Regions from separate parts of the Homo sapiens genome. Here all the other regions are linked to region 1. Evidence: promoter capture Hi-C in 16 types of primary human blood cells and fetal thymus (Javierre and others, 2016). All regions are on one chromosome and are shown on one strand. Each heading gives the region's core, a stretch centred on a gene start or on the middle of the fragment in contact. The rest is flanking DNA. Distances are from core to core; before and after follow the strand shown. Region 1 holds the start of RAB36 (RAB36, member RAS oncogene family). Region 2 overlaps BCR (BCR activator of RhoGEF and GTPase). Region 3 has its middle 71 kb from the start of IGLL5.

Evidence for each region. The method cuts DNA at HindIII sites, captures the fragments that hold promoters and counts their contacts. A CHiCAGO score of 5 or more calls a contact.
Region 2: a contact is called between a fragment that was not itself captured here and the fragment with the promoter of RAB36 in region 1, in 6 of 17 cell types (neutrophils, megakaryocytes, naive CD4 T cells and 3 more). The highest score is 10.5, in neutrophils.
Region 3: a contact is called between a fragment that was not itself captured here and the fragment with the promoter of RAB36 in region 1, in 10 of 17 cell types (megakaryocytes, naive CD8 T cells, total CD8 T cells and 7 more). The highest score is 11.1, in megakaryocytes.

Annotation. Positions count from the first base shown.
Region 1 is chr22:23,143,208-23,147,503 of GRCh38, reverse strand. RAB36 (RAB36, member RAS oncogene family) reads right to left here and starts at 2,027. Exons shown (of 11, transcript NM_004914.5): 1 at 1,953-2,027; 2 at 819-899. The coding sequence starts at 887. It also overlaps a transcript of RSPH14 not described here. RefSeq lists a silencer at 2,205-2,274. The HindIII fragment of the contact is 8,574 bases long and covers 1-3,103 here.
Region 2 is chr22:23,273,508-23,278,381 of GRCh38, reverse strand. BCR (BCR activator of RhoGEF and GTPase) reads right to left here. Exons shown (of 23, transcript NM_004327.4): 8 at 4,608-4,748. Among named protein-coding and RNA genes, the nearest start is that of LINC02556, 51 kb to the left of the region's middle. The HindIII fragment of the contact is 8,216 bases long and covers 1-4,874 here.
Region 3 is chr22:22,956,930-22,961,621 of GRCh38, reverse strand. No RefSeq gene overlaps it. Among named protein-coding and RNA genes, the nearest start is that of IGLL5, 71 kb to the right of the region's middle. The HindIII fragment of the contact is 1,860 bases long and covers 1,105-2,964 here.

The sequences.
Region 1 (4,296 bases), core at 778-3,277:
TAAAAATTAGCCAGGCATGGTAGCACATGCCTGTGGTCCTAGCTACTCCGGGAGGCTGAGGCAGAAGGATTGCTTCAGCCCAGGAGTTAGAGGAGTGAATTATGATGGCACCATTGCACTCCAGCCTGGGTGACAGAGCAAGATCCTGTCTCTAAAAAAAAAAGAAAAAAGAAACAGAATGGCTGGATCTTAGAGGGCAGGGTCATCTTCTATATTGGTAAATATTGTCCACTGCCCCCTATGGAGGTTGTACTCAATTTGTATTCCCTGCTGCAATTAATATTGGATTTTAATACAGACACAAGAGAGCTGTGAGTTTTCAAGCTCATAGAGGCGGAATGGCAAGAGGAGAGAGCCCTGGATTTGGGGTCATGGAACTGGAATGCTGTTTTGATAACAACAACGATGATGAGAACAACAGCAACTATGACTGCAGGGGAGCTCCTGCATACCATGAGCCAGGCACCCAATATGAGAGGAATTACCTTCATGTAACAGTGGCTCTGAGAGGTTGAGTAATTTGCCCACAGCCACACAGCTTAATGACAGAATCAGAATGAAGGATTCACATCAAGGACTGTCTGGCTGCAAAATCCCAGCCCTTATAACCTCCAGGCCACACTGCTGCCCAGTGTCACCATTAACTTGCGGTCCCACCTTGGGCAGTCAGTGACCAGTCTCCCAGCTCCTCAAGGTAAATCTGACAATGGACAGACCTCCTTGATTCACCTGCTTTACTTCTAGGCATGAGTGTAGAGTGGGGAGAGCTGATGTGGCTGCAGGGCCAGGAGAGCACTGCAGACGTAATGACTCTCTACCTTAGGGAAGCTGGCGATGACACGGTCGCGGCTCACAGGGGGCCCCAAAGGTGTCAGGGAGGACCTCATTCTTCCACAGTCCTGTGGACCCAACCAGGAGAAAGACAGTTAAGGAGCTGTGCAAATACCTGGGGATTCACCCATGAGTTTCCACCTAACTTTTCATCAGATCCAGGCTGGGTGCAGTGGCTCATGCCTGTAATCCCAGCACTTTGGGAGGCCAAGGTGGGAGGATCACTTGGGCCCAGGAGGTTGAGACCAGCCTGGGCAACAAAGTGAAACCTCAGTCTCTACAAAAAAAAACCAAAAAAATTAGCAGGGCATGGTGGCCTGTGCCTGCAGTCCCAGCTACTTGGGAGGAAGGTGGGAGGAATGCTTGAGCCTGGGAGGTCAAGGGTGCAGTGAACCGTGAAGGTGCCACTGCACTCCAGCCTGGGTGATAGAGTAAGACCTTGTCTCAAGAATTATAAATAAAACCAGATCCAGGCTTCCCTCTCTGTCAGGAATATGGGGCAGAGGCCATTTCTCTCAATCTGCATACAGCAGGCAGCATGGTATGGGGGAACCAGGCCTGCCCCACCCTGCCTGGGAGTCAGAAGACCTGGGTCTCCCCTTGACAGGTGTCTACCAAGGAGGAGCTCCCCTCTGAGCTTACCTTACTGGGCTGTGAGGCATGGCACAGCTCAGGCAGTGGAAGTAGAGTGGGGAGGGGTCTCCTGCTCCCAGTCTGCAAAGGACGAAGGCTCTAGGTGGGCCTGGGGGCCTTAACTTTCAGCCAACTAGGCCTTTTCCCTGAAAACCCTCACTTCACCAGGCCTCTGACTCCTCGAGCCTCCTCAACAGCCCCTCTGTCTCCTTTTTCTGTCCGGACTCCTCTCCAGGCTGGGCTGGGGTGGTCCTGGCGGAGTCCGGTTGTCTTCCCGCATCTGACCTGGCTCTCCTCCACAACCAGCGCGGGCCTGGCCCAGAGTTTGCGCTCCGGAAATGAGGACGCCCCGGGGCCGCAGGCCGCTTTCAAGTTATAGGGGCGGGAAGTGGGCGCGGACGCTGTGCCCTCGCGGCCCTGGCCTCGGGATGTGCCAGCACGGGGTTGGGTGACCGGGAGGGTCGGACAGAGTGGGCGAGCTGACTCACCAGCGATGGCTGTGAAAGCTGGGGCTCCGCGCGGCCTGGTCCGCCTGAGCCAGCGGCGGCGATCACCATGGCAACGAGAGCCACGCGGGACCTGCGGGCTACACGAATCGTCGACGTCGTGGGCGGGGTCTGCGTTGGACTGGCAGCGGCGCGTCCAAGCATCCAGCTTGCACCGGCGATCACCATAGCAACGAGAACCTGCCTGGAGTCTGGGCGGGGCTGGCAGCAGAGAGACTCCTGGACACCCTGGAGAGCCGGAGATCACCATGACAACAAGGGCGGTGCTGGATGGGTGGGCGGTGGGCGGGGCTATGGAGGCCCGGGGGCGGAGCCTGAGCCCTGGGTGGGGCTGACCGTGGAGAGATTCGCGCAGGTTCTGGTGATCAGCTCGGCTGGGAGAGGTTGGGCGGTTATGGCATAAGAGCTCCTGATGTGGTATTGATGTTTAATTGGAGTCAAGCACCCTGCAGCTGCAGAAGATAGACCTGCCTACCATCTACTGACCTTAGTCTGCATAGTTCTGAATCCAGTGCTGTCTGAATATCATATGCCTGGCTTCTAGAGCTCACGGTACAAAATTAATTTCCTTAATAAAAAGCTGACCTGAGTCAGTGATTTCCTCTGAACTAGTTTCGGTTTGGAAAGTTAGCTGTTTTGGGCTAGATGGCCTCTTGTGGCCCTTATAAAACCGTGGAACCAGCTTCGAAGTCCGGGGTTCAGTTTGAGAACCTACTTAATTCAGCTCCTTAACTTTTCTGCATCACAATATGGAAGCCTTGGTACACAGATCTAACTCAGTCATCTTCAATTCAAAGCTAAGTGTGCTGGAGGCTGGTGTTTGATGTCTTTTTTTTTTTTTTTTAAAGAGATGGAGTCTTGCTATGTTGTCCAGGCTGGACTCGAACTCCTAGGCTCAAGGAATCCTCCCGCCTCAGCCTCCCCAGTCCTTGGGACTACAGGCAAGGGCCACCACACCTGGCTCTGTTTAATGTCTTTTAGTGAGTTTCACTGCTAAGGTTGAGGCTTAGGGGGTGAACTTAGGTGAGTTGTTCCACCTTCCGCACCTCAGTTTACTCAACTATAAAATAAACGCAACTATCTATTTCAATGGATCACCTGAGATGGTGAAAGTGCTTTTATACTGTAAAGCTTGATTCAAGTCCATTAACTATTCATTTGTCCTACATGTACTGAAAGCTTCCTGGTATATGCCTAGCACTGGGGAGACAAGGAAAGAGAACGGACATGGTGTCCACCCTCAGGGAAATTGGAGTCCACTGCGGGAAGCAGAGAAGTAAATAGAGAATTAGGGGAAGGGAGTGTGCCAATGGGATTTAGGAGAAGGGAAGATTAAGCTGTGGGGTCACTTACTAATTTGGATTTGGGGATTTGGCAGGAGCTAGAGATCACCCTGAACTCCTCCTTTAGCTGTTTTTTTTTTTTTTTTTTTTTTTTTTTTGAGATGGAGTCTCACTCTGTCGCCCAGGCTGGAGTGCAGTAGTGTGATCTCGGCTCACTGCAATCTCCGCCTCCCGGCTCAAGCGATTCTCCTGCCTCAGCCTCCCGAGTAGCTGGGACCACAGGTGCGCACCAACCATGCTTGGCTAATTTTTAAATTTTTTTAGTAGAGATGGGGTTTTGCCATGTGTGCCAGGCTGGTTTTGAACTCCTGGCCTCATGTGATCCGCCGGCCTTGGCTTCCCAAAGTGTTGGGATTACAGGCGTAAGCCAGCACACCTGGCCCCAATCCTCCTTTAGCTCTTAAGTGGGCTCTTTGCCTAGATCTAGAAACCAAACTGACACTGGGCAGATTAGCAAGAGAAAAGCATACAAGTGTTATTAGTTTTACATGCGCATGGGGATCTTTACCAGAGTGAAGTCTAGAGAAGTGGCCAAAGCAAGATGCTTTTATACTTTTTAGACAAAGGATGACAAATTTGAGAAGAAATGGCAGGACAAAGGGGATCTGGCTAGGGCAGTAAATTCTAGGGGATTCACTAGGAGATAATATGAGGGGCATAAACTTAGTGGAAGACAGGGTTAAGTATATTTATTCAGGTCCATTGCAGTCCCCAATTCTTAGTCTCAGGTGACAAGGGCTATTTTCTTGCCCTGGTACAGTGAGGGTACCGCTCCTAGAGGAATCTTTATGGCTTGCTGAATGCAGAAAGAAGCATATCTGTTTGCCTTTTCTTGTATCTTTTTTTAAAATTATATCTATTTATTTATTTATTTATTTATTTATTTATTTATTTATTTTAGAGTTGAGGTCTCACTCTGTCACCCAGGCTGGGGTGTAGTAGTGTGATCATATCTCACTGTAACCTCAAACTCTTGGGCTCAA
Region 2 (4,874 bases), core at 2,291-4,790, 130 kb before region 1:
TCTCTCAGCCTCAAGCCTGCACTGGTGGTACTTCCCTCCTCCAGGGCCTTCCTGCAGCTCCTGTTTGGACTGCTGTCTGTGTTCTTCCTAAAAGAGGGGCCTCTGCAATCCCAGGCAGAGAACGGGTATTGGAGGTCAATGCCTGGCTGGCTCTTGGGAAACAGAACATCCAAACTGGATCGTCCGCTATGCTTCCGAGCCCAGGCGGAGGGGGTGCTGAGCAGCACGTGGTGCCAAGGCTCCGAGTAGACAGAGAGGCAACCACGTGGGAAGTCACCCAGCAGTGGGGATTGGTTATCTAACTGTGAAGTTAATTCACCTAAACAAATGAGCGCCACCCACCAGCCCTCAGAACCCAGGCCTGGAAAGAAACTGTGCCTGCGGGATCCTTTGATCCTGTCATTTTGGGAAGGCTAAGGAGGGCATTCTCTTGGGCAGCACCTGTGGCTCACGGCCCCCAGGTGTGCTTGGGCCAGGATGCCAGGAAGCTGGAGCACCTGCCGGCCACCGTTCAGCATCAGGGAGCTACCTGGAATGCAGCCCAAAGTCACTGTTCCCCAAAGAGCACAGCCCTGGAGCCATGGGATGTGGCTGAAAAGGGCAATGAGATTATAGGAGCCACAGTGGGGGTCTGGGGCTGGGGTGGCTGACCCTGCAGAGGGCTCATACCTGGGCCTCTCCTCGATGCCAGACTTGCCCAGGCTCAGCAGGTAGCAATGGGCCACCTCCCAGGAGGCCCAGTAGTGACTGCAGGAGAACCTCGAAACACCCAGGCCAACAGAAGCAGCTTTCCTCTTGACATCAAATGCCAGGGAAGACAGAAACAGCCCCAACCCCTTGACACACTCCCAGCAGCAGCAGCAGCAGCAGGGGATGGGGTAGTGTGCGGAGCTAAAAGGGACATCTCTTCCTCTTTCCTACCTCCAGGTAGTGCAGGAACAAGAGGAGGGGTGGAAACGTCCTATCGGCTCACAGAGGAGGAAGGGAACCAAAGAGTAACACACCCGAGGGGCACACAGGCGGCCAGGGGCCCATGGCCTCACTCGCATCCTGGCTTAGCTACTTAGTGGCTGTGTGACTGGGCAAGACACTCAACCTCTCTGAGTCGCAGTTTCCTCATCTGTAAAAGGGAGATCACCTCTGACCCCACAGAACTGTCATGAGAATGCAGAGGCACAGTCCCTTTCTCCCTTTGGGAACTTGACACTCCATGTCATGTACCAAACTAAGAGATGGGCAGAACTGAGAAAAGTTCAGGCCCTGCCCCTGGCTGCAAATTCTAAGAGGAAGTAGCCTGGAGCTTCTGCCCCCCTTTCCTGGCTAGTGTCGTCAGGGGAGCTCGCCCGTCACCTCCGACACAGATGGCAGCATGCGGGCAGGCCACCACCCCTCACTTTCATAAAGTCCCTCGCAGGCTGTGAAACCTTTTCAGTCTCAACACCCAGTGGAGGGGCCACGGACCCTGCATCATTGCCCTCAGAGAGCACGGACACCCAGGGAAGCAAAAGGGTGTCCCCAAATCAGTACACTGGTAGCAGTGAGGGAGAGCGGACCCTGACGGGGCTTCGCCCATCTGGCATCTTTCTTTCTGCATCAAGGACTGCAAACCCGTTGGGCAGTGCCAGGGGATACCGAGGTGGATGTCCAGGCTTGGAGTGCCCAACTGATCAGCAGCATCTGCCCCAGGAATGGCAGGGGCAGGGGCAAAGCACAGGCATCTATCATCCTGCCTTAGCCACCATCAAGCCACCTCCCTTAACGTGCCTCGGATAGAAAGCTCTGAGTGAAGGGGTGCTGGTCAGACTCACGGTGACTTTTCTAGAGTCATTAGTCCTCCACCTTGCTTTGCAGCTAAGGCACCCAGGTGACCCCTCCTCAATGAGCAAGTGCCCCTCCACCAGGGCGAGGTCCTGGGGAGGATGCAGATCCAGGCCCCTGCCTTTGTGAAGCAACCAGCCCTTTTTTTTTTTTTTTCTTTTTTTTGAGACAGAATCTCGCTCTGTTGCCCAGACTGGAGTGCAGTGGCACAATCTCGGCTCACTGCAACCTCCGCCTCCCAGGTTCACGAGATTCTCCTGCCTCAGCCTCCTGAGTAGCTGGGACTACAGGTGCCCACCACCACGCCCAGCTAATTTTTTGTATTTTTAGTAGAGATGGGGTTTTATCGTGTTAGCCAGGATGGTCTCAAACTTCTGACCTGGTGATCCGCCTGCCTCGGCCTCCCAAAGTACTAGGATTACAGGTGTGAGCCACCGCGCCCAGCCGCACCCAGCCCTTCTTAAATTACACTTCCTCCTTGGTGGCCCCGAGACATGACCATGGGTAAGCGTGGAAGTTGGCCCCCATGGGGACGGATGCAGGAACGAGGGCCTAGGTGTCAACTTCTAGACAACATCGCGTTTTCCTTAATTCCCCAAAGCAGTGGATTCCAATGATCCGAGCACTGAGAAGGCCCTTCCTTGTCTCTAGGAATGCTAAATGGCAGCTGCAGTTGCAGGGAGCAGACTAGGCACAGGAGAAGCCATGGGAAAAAGGACGCCCACACTCACTTCCCAGGAGGTCAGAGCGCTCATAAAAGAATAGTCGGTAGAAGAGAAAGAGCAGGCATCTCAGGAGGGTAGGGCGAACCTGGCAGGAACCCACCCAGCACGTGGAGGCTTAGGAGAAGCAAATCCAACATCCACTTAGATCTGTGTGGACTGCCCACAGGTTTGTCACAGGTTTGCTCTCCTTCTGGGGCCCTGAGCCAGGGAAGAGAACCAAGGGCAGGGCCCGGTTGTTGCTCCAAGAAGCAAGATCTGATCCCCCACCACTCCCAGGTCCCAGCCATGGGATGAGCAGCTGGGGAACACTTGCACTGCTCAACGCCTCCACTGGAAGGTGCCGGGGACCCACTTCCGCCTTCAATGCGCTCAGAGACTGCCAAGGAGCCAACACGGATGGCGAGGACTGCCACTAAATCATGCCCATTTGACAGCCCAGGTGCCCGATGAGGTGGGGCCATGTTCCCACCCTGCTGCAAAGACAAGGAATGGGCCCAGTTGGGAGAAGCTCTAGGCCACCCAGTGGGTCGGTCCTCACGATGCTGGCATGGGACTCTGAGTCTGCCCAGCTCCAGGGCTTGGACAAGCCGGAGAGCGGAATGGAAGGGACAGCTCCCTCCTCCTCCATGCCCTTCCTGGGCCAGGCCCACCAGGAGAAACCTGACCAAGTCCCTCACTAAAGGTCAACTCGGATTAGACTCTGGACACTCAGGGTACCATTCCCAAAGTGGTGTGTGGCAGATGGGGCTGACAGCTGCCTGCCTGGTGGCCCAGGGCAGGAGGAGGAAAGCAAGCCCCATGTGTTGGGCAGGTCCACCCTGGGGGCCCTGAGGACAGGGCCCGTGTCCTTGGTACAGTGCCGACCACCTGGCCCATGAACCAGAAGAAAGAGAAGGAGGTGGTTCTCTTTTTTTTTTTTTTTTTTTTTTTTGAGATGGAGTTTCACTCTGTCACCCAGGCTGGAGTGCAGTGGTGAGATCTCGGCTCACTGCAAACTCCGCCTCCTGGGTTCAAGCGATTCACCTGCCTCAGCCTCCCGAGTAGCTGGGATTACAGGCACCCACCACCGTGCCCAGTTAATTTTTGTATTTTTAGTAGAGACGGGGTTTCACCATGTTGGCCAGGCTGGTCTCGAATTCTTGACCTCCTGATCCACCCGCCTAGGCCTCCCAAAGTGCTAGGATTACAGGCGTGAGCCACCGCACCCAGCCATGAGGTGGTTCTGAGGCAACTACAGTCAGGTTCACGCCCAGCCTGTGTCCTGCCTGGGCCAGACAGCTTCTGTCCCTGCATGAGACCCCTGAGGCCGGGGGTCAGCTCCCCTCGCCTCAGTGCTGCTTCTGACAAAAGCTGTTCCCCCTGGACACTGGCTCCCCAGCTTACACGCCTTGGCTGTTCTCAGTAGCTGCTACCTGCCTGGGAATGCATCTGCCTCATTATGTGCCAGGCCACACCTAGGAAGGCTCAGAGCGGCACAGGCACAGGCCATGCCTGCTCATCGATGATGTGCACACAGAGTACATCAGTGACGGGGGGGAAGGGGAAGGAGAGTCTTCCCGGAGGAAGACGTGAAGTGCTTCAACCAGTCTCACGTCACAGACACAAACCACGAACCCCACTTTCTAATCCTTAAACCCGATGTTAACTGTTTTTTAATGAAAGCACTCAGGGGGAAGTAGGAGGATTCCAGGCAGACAAAATGCCATCCTCCTACTCACCTCCTTTGCACAAGTCTCCTTGGCTGGGGAGCCTGAGCTGGCAAGACTGTGGGGGATAAAAAAAAAGGGGTCCCTGGACACAACCCACAATGACAGAAAAGGAAAGAGGTGGCTGAGTGAGGCATGGTGATGGCTGCCACCTGGAGGGCATGGTGCTTGCAGGGTCACCCCTGAGACTGCACCCAGACACCTTCCACACAGGACTGAGTGTGCGGCCAATCTCACCAATCCCAGAAGGCAAGGTCTGCTGAGGACCAGGAAGGGCTCCAGACCTCAGATCGAGGGGCCCTGCATGCCCCCAGCTCAGCAGGATGGGTGGACCCAAGCCATCCCCTGCCACACTCACCTCTCCCTTCTTCACCGTCATGGACTGCCGTCGGGGTGTGATCTCCTCATTGATGCTGGACAGGAAGTTCTGTGAGATGCGGAGGGCGTCCTGCAGCAAGGGGTGGTCAGGGTGGCTGGCAGGAGTGTGCTTCAGCAAGTCCTGCCCCAGGAAGAAAGACTTGAGTTAGACACAGAGGAGCACTGGCACCTGCCACTGTGTGCAAAGTGCAGACACAAAGTGTGGACGGAGCCCAGAGCGCCGGCTCCCTCAGTGTCACCACAGTCT
Region 3 (4,692 bases), core at 785-3,284, 190 kb after region 1:
TAGTATTATAATAACTGCTTTAATGACCTTATCTATTTATTACCTATGTCAATTTTGGATCAGCTTTGACTGGCTGATATTTTCCTAACTATGGATCATATTCTTCCACTTCTTTGCCTGCATGTTAATTTGTAGTTGAATGCTAGACATTGTGCATTTTATCTTTGCAGGTGCTAGATATTTTTGTATTCTTAAGTTGTGTTCTGGTACACAGTTAAATTATTTTGAAACAGTTTAATCTATCCCCAGCTTTCTTTTAACATTTTTACATGAGACCACAACAGCATTAAGTCTATGGTTAATTTTGTCCACAGATCAGGAAGACTCCTCTGAGTACTCTACCTGATGCTTAATGAATTATGAGATTTTCTGTACTTGTTGATGAGGTCAGGCATTATTTTCAGCCCTGAATTTTCTCTGGGGATTGTTCTGTTCAATGCTTTTGGGTAGTCTTTTTCTTGGCCTCAGGTACATTCCTCATATGCATACACTGATCACTACTCAGTATAATACTTACACTCTCGTATTTGCAGAGTTCTCTTTCTGTTAAGCTCCCTCCTCTTTGGTACTCTGCCCTATGAACTCCAGCGGCCTGGGATCCCAAGCAGCTCTGTTTCTTCAACTCGGGGAGGCCAGTGGGCTGTGGTTACGTTCTCTCCTCCTTGAGCCTCAGACTGGAAACTCTCCATGCAGTAATCTGGGGCAATCGTGGGGCTCATCTTATTCATTTCTCATCTCTTATAAACCACTATCTTTCATTGCCTGATGTCCAGTGACTTAAATATTTTGTGTTGTTTTTAAAATTATTCCAGGCCTAAAAATAAATCCAGCTCCTGTTACTCCATGTTGACCAGAATGTATAATTGTTATTGCTGTTTTTTTTCTTTAAAAAACACCTTTATTGAGATGACTTATCCAATTAAACTGAGGCTCATTTGCAGGGATAGTTTTTGAGGTCAGTGTTTGAGGTTTGCTTTGACCCCAAGAGGTCTGTTTTTAGCCATGTCTTTTCCTGGTTCTCTCTGATAAACTAGCTGGCCTATGGTCTAGTTTATGTCACTAATGAACTTACCAGTTTCCTCTCAATTGCTTTTTGCCCAAGCTTCATTGTTTTGAAAGTCCCCTTAATGTTGAACTTTGTACTCATTTGCAAATAAAGTCAGTTCATTCGGGAAGGGCTTTAGAGCTCTCTATGTCCTGCCTTTCCTCTTGGGGAAATGTTTCAGGAGCTTTTGGCTATGGCTCTGGGGCTGGGTGGGGACAGTGGTAGGTAGCTACTTTCTGAGTGACACCCCTGCTTTAGGAGGTGGGTGCTTATTGGAGAGTCTATTGTATTCCCAGCTTGCTTCTCATAGCATGGAACCTCTACTTTACAAATGAGCTGGTTGATGGTGCCAGTATTCTCAGTGTGTTGCACCCAAGGCAGGGCTTTTGTCCCACAAGTAGGGGCTGAGCAAAAGAAGAGAGCCTCAACCGATTACTACAATCACCTGGAATTTAGTCTCTGCAACAGGTAGCTGGGGTGGGAAGAAAAATGCTGATGGATTTTCCTTCTTGGGAAAATACCATAGCCCTTGACTGGGAGCTGGGTGGAGACAGTGCTGTGTCCTTGGCTGTACCCACCTGGAGTGGAGTTTCTGTCACATTTTGCTGGCAGTGGGAGGAATGGAGCAGGTCGTGGTTGAAATGCCACAGACCCTCCCATTTCTTGCCAGGTTTTAATAGATGTTCTTGAATTAAATGTTTTTTTATTTGCTGTATGCCCTAAGGCCATTTCTAGAGACTTTAAATAAATACATATATCTTAAATATTTTATACACACACACAATTGCCCATTCTGGAAGTGGAAGTCCCCCGTCTCCACCCCCAGGAGGTTTTCAACACTCTAGATGTGGATGCCCAGCTGACCGCTCACTCTGCCTCCCACTGCAGGAAGACTCAAGGATAGATGCCCCAGTGAGTCAACCTCCTAGCTTCTTTTCAAATTCAAACAATCTTTTCTCTAGCCACACCTTGGTTCATAGGCTAAAACCCTTGTTACTTGGATTTGACCTTTTTGAGAATTTTTGGAGCGTGCACAGTCTTGTTGAACCCTAATGCAACCAAGTAGTTGTGTAGTTCTCTTCTAGGGTCAGATTCACTCTCATCAGATAATGTGTGGACCCGGGAAACAAATTATCTGTACATGCTGGCCGTCTCCCTGCATTTCCGCCACCTGGTGGGCAATTTTCACATGGACTGCCTTGAATCTGGATTATATTTGGTGGTCTCTGGCACCCTCCGGTGATGAGATATTTTAGCCCTGTGTTTTGTGGTAGTTTGACCGTATTTCATTTGTGATGAAGTGATTTTTGACCTGTATAACTGCTTTACAAGGAAACACACTTGGAGCTTGTTCACTGAGGGGCTGGAATAGTCAATCTGCATCCATGTCCACAGGCTGTTGGCTGGCATTTCTTCGGTGATGAGTCTGGTTTAGCCTCATTGTGAGAACATGCAAGGTGTGTGCATCCCTGGGTCTCTAGTTTAGTGTTCCTTCCAGGTCTTGGGCACCTATCCCAGCAGATCTTGGTGGCAATCATGAAGGATATCCTGGGGACATCACAACATAGTCCTCTCCCAGTTTTGCTGGCCAGCAGTGAAAAGACCGAGAGGCTGCTTTCGGGTCTTGTTTTTACAACTAGACCTTCGAAAGACATAAAGCATCTGTGTCCCTGCTTTGTAAGGTTCCAATCACCCCAGATCTTTTTCTTCATCCCCATGAGCAGTGGGGGGTCACGTTAACAATTTGGATCCAGTTATTCTCAGCAGCTAATGTCCTTCCAGCAGAGAGGGCGGACGCTGGGACTGTCCCATCATCGATGTTCCTCCAGCTCAGCCATCTTCTGGCTGCTGGACCAGATTGTCTGACTTTATTACCCAAGGGCTGAAAGGCTTATTGTCCCTGTGGCCACTTGGAAGCTTATGATCTTTGACTCCTGAGCTGTATTCTGTCATCCATTTAGCATAATATAGCGATCAGTCCAAGGACTCCAGTTCCTTATTTTACTTGTGAAGGATCATTTAGAAAAAAAATTCAACCTCCTTAGCAGTAGTTTGTCCTGGAATGTTGGTTTTATTAATAATTACTGTGGGTTACACCTCCCCTGCCTTCTCACCTTCTTTGAGGTTTCCCACATGAAAACCCCTGACACTGACTGAGGGATGGTCAGATTTTTAAAAATGTGACATTGGGGTTTTGAGGACCAGCATTCACGTCCATCCTGTATGAGGCCATCCTTGAAGTCAGAAGTTTTCCACTCTGAACCATCATTAGAGGAGTCATCGCTATGGTGACATGATGGTTTTCTCTCTTTCCATGAACTTGGAGATGGGGAATTATTTGAAAAGATAGAGAGCTGAGTGTCCAACCTCACTCTGGTCATATGACGTCTCTAGGGGAGCAAAGGCTAAAGGAAATTGGTTTCCTCCTTGCTGTGCAATGCACTAGCTTTTGGACACATGGCTGTCCTGTCACTTTTTACTGGAGCTAGGCCCGAGGCATTTGCAGGAGTGTAATTTATTTGGCCCCAAGCTGTGACACGTTCTGGGTCCACCGGAAATTCTTGATTTCTTTTATACTCTGCTGGGCGGGCTTCTCTAGGGTACTTATTCTAGGAATAAATCTCACGAATCTTTGTGGGCTTTGAAGTCCACATTGCTCCTTGGAGAGGAGAGAGCATCTGCATCCATTCTTTGCTCACCCACCACCCCCGAAGTGGCCATTCCAAAGAAAGCTGCCTGTGTTCTCACTGGCTGATATCTATCCCCATTTTAACCTGATTTAGATGGGGCTGACCAGCATTTATGGTTTGGTCACAACGCTTGCCTTCTGCAGTTCCCTGTGGCAGCTGACTGTTTGCATTCTGCAAGATGAATGCCTGAAGGCTTCATTTGACTTCATTTGATTGAAGGTCTATCATAGTAGCAGTTCGGAGATGACCTTCATTTCCATGCCATCTTTTGATGCTGAGATATTGTGTCAACCAGGGTAGACTCAGGAGGCAAACCACACCAGTAATTTGAACAGGGATTTTTTCAGAGTTGTTAAACTATAAAGAGTGGTGAGCTCATGAAAAGGATAAAGCAGGACTGTACAACGTTCATGAGTAGCAGATTCAGAAAGCAGCTACCGACTCACGCGGAGTGAGTGAAGGAACTAAGAGCTTGAGAATGGGACCCCAGGCAAGGCTGAGATTCAGACTTTTCCAGGAGAGCATGGTTTTGCTGTGAGCTGTAGCCTGCCAGAGGCCAAGACGCTTGCCAGAGAGTGTGAGCAGAAGCTGGTCCATGGAAGGGCCTATCATTGCCCAGGGGTATGTGGGTGGGCTGGTGCAGGTCTGGAGGATCAGCCCCAGGGTGGAAAGGTGATTGCCTGAGGATGCAGTAGGAGCTTGTCTGTAGAAGCAGCAGCCAGGGACTTTATATTTGCACAGATAATCTTTTCACACATTGCCCTTTTAGGGATATGGAAAGTAGAGTCCTGGGCTAAACAGATGCCTTCTTTAACAGTTCACTATGGAAGCTGGATGTGGTGGCTCATGCCTGTAATCCCAGCACTTTGGGAGGCCAAGGTGGGAGGATTCCTTGAGGCCAGGAGTTCGAGACCAGCTTAGGCAAATAATGAGATTCCCCATCTCTACAAAAAATAC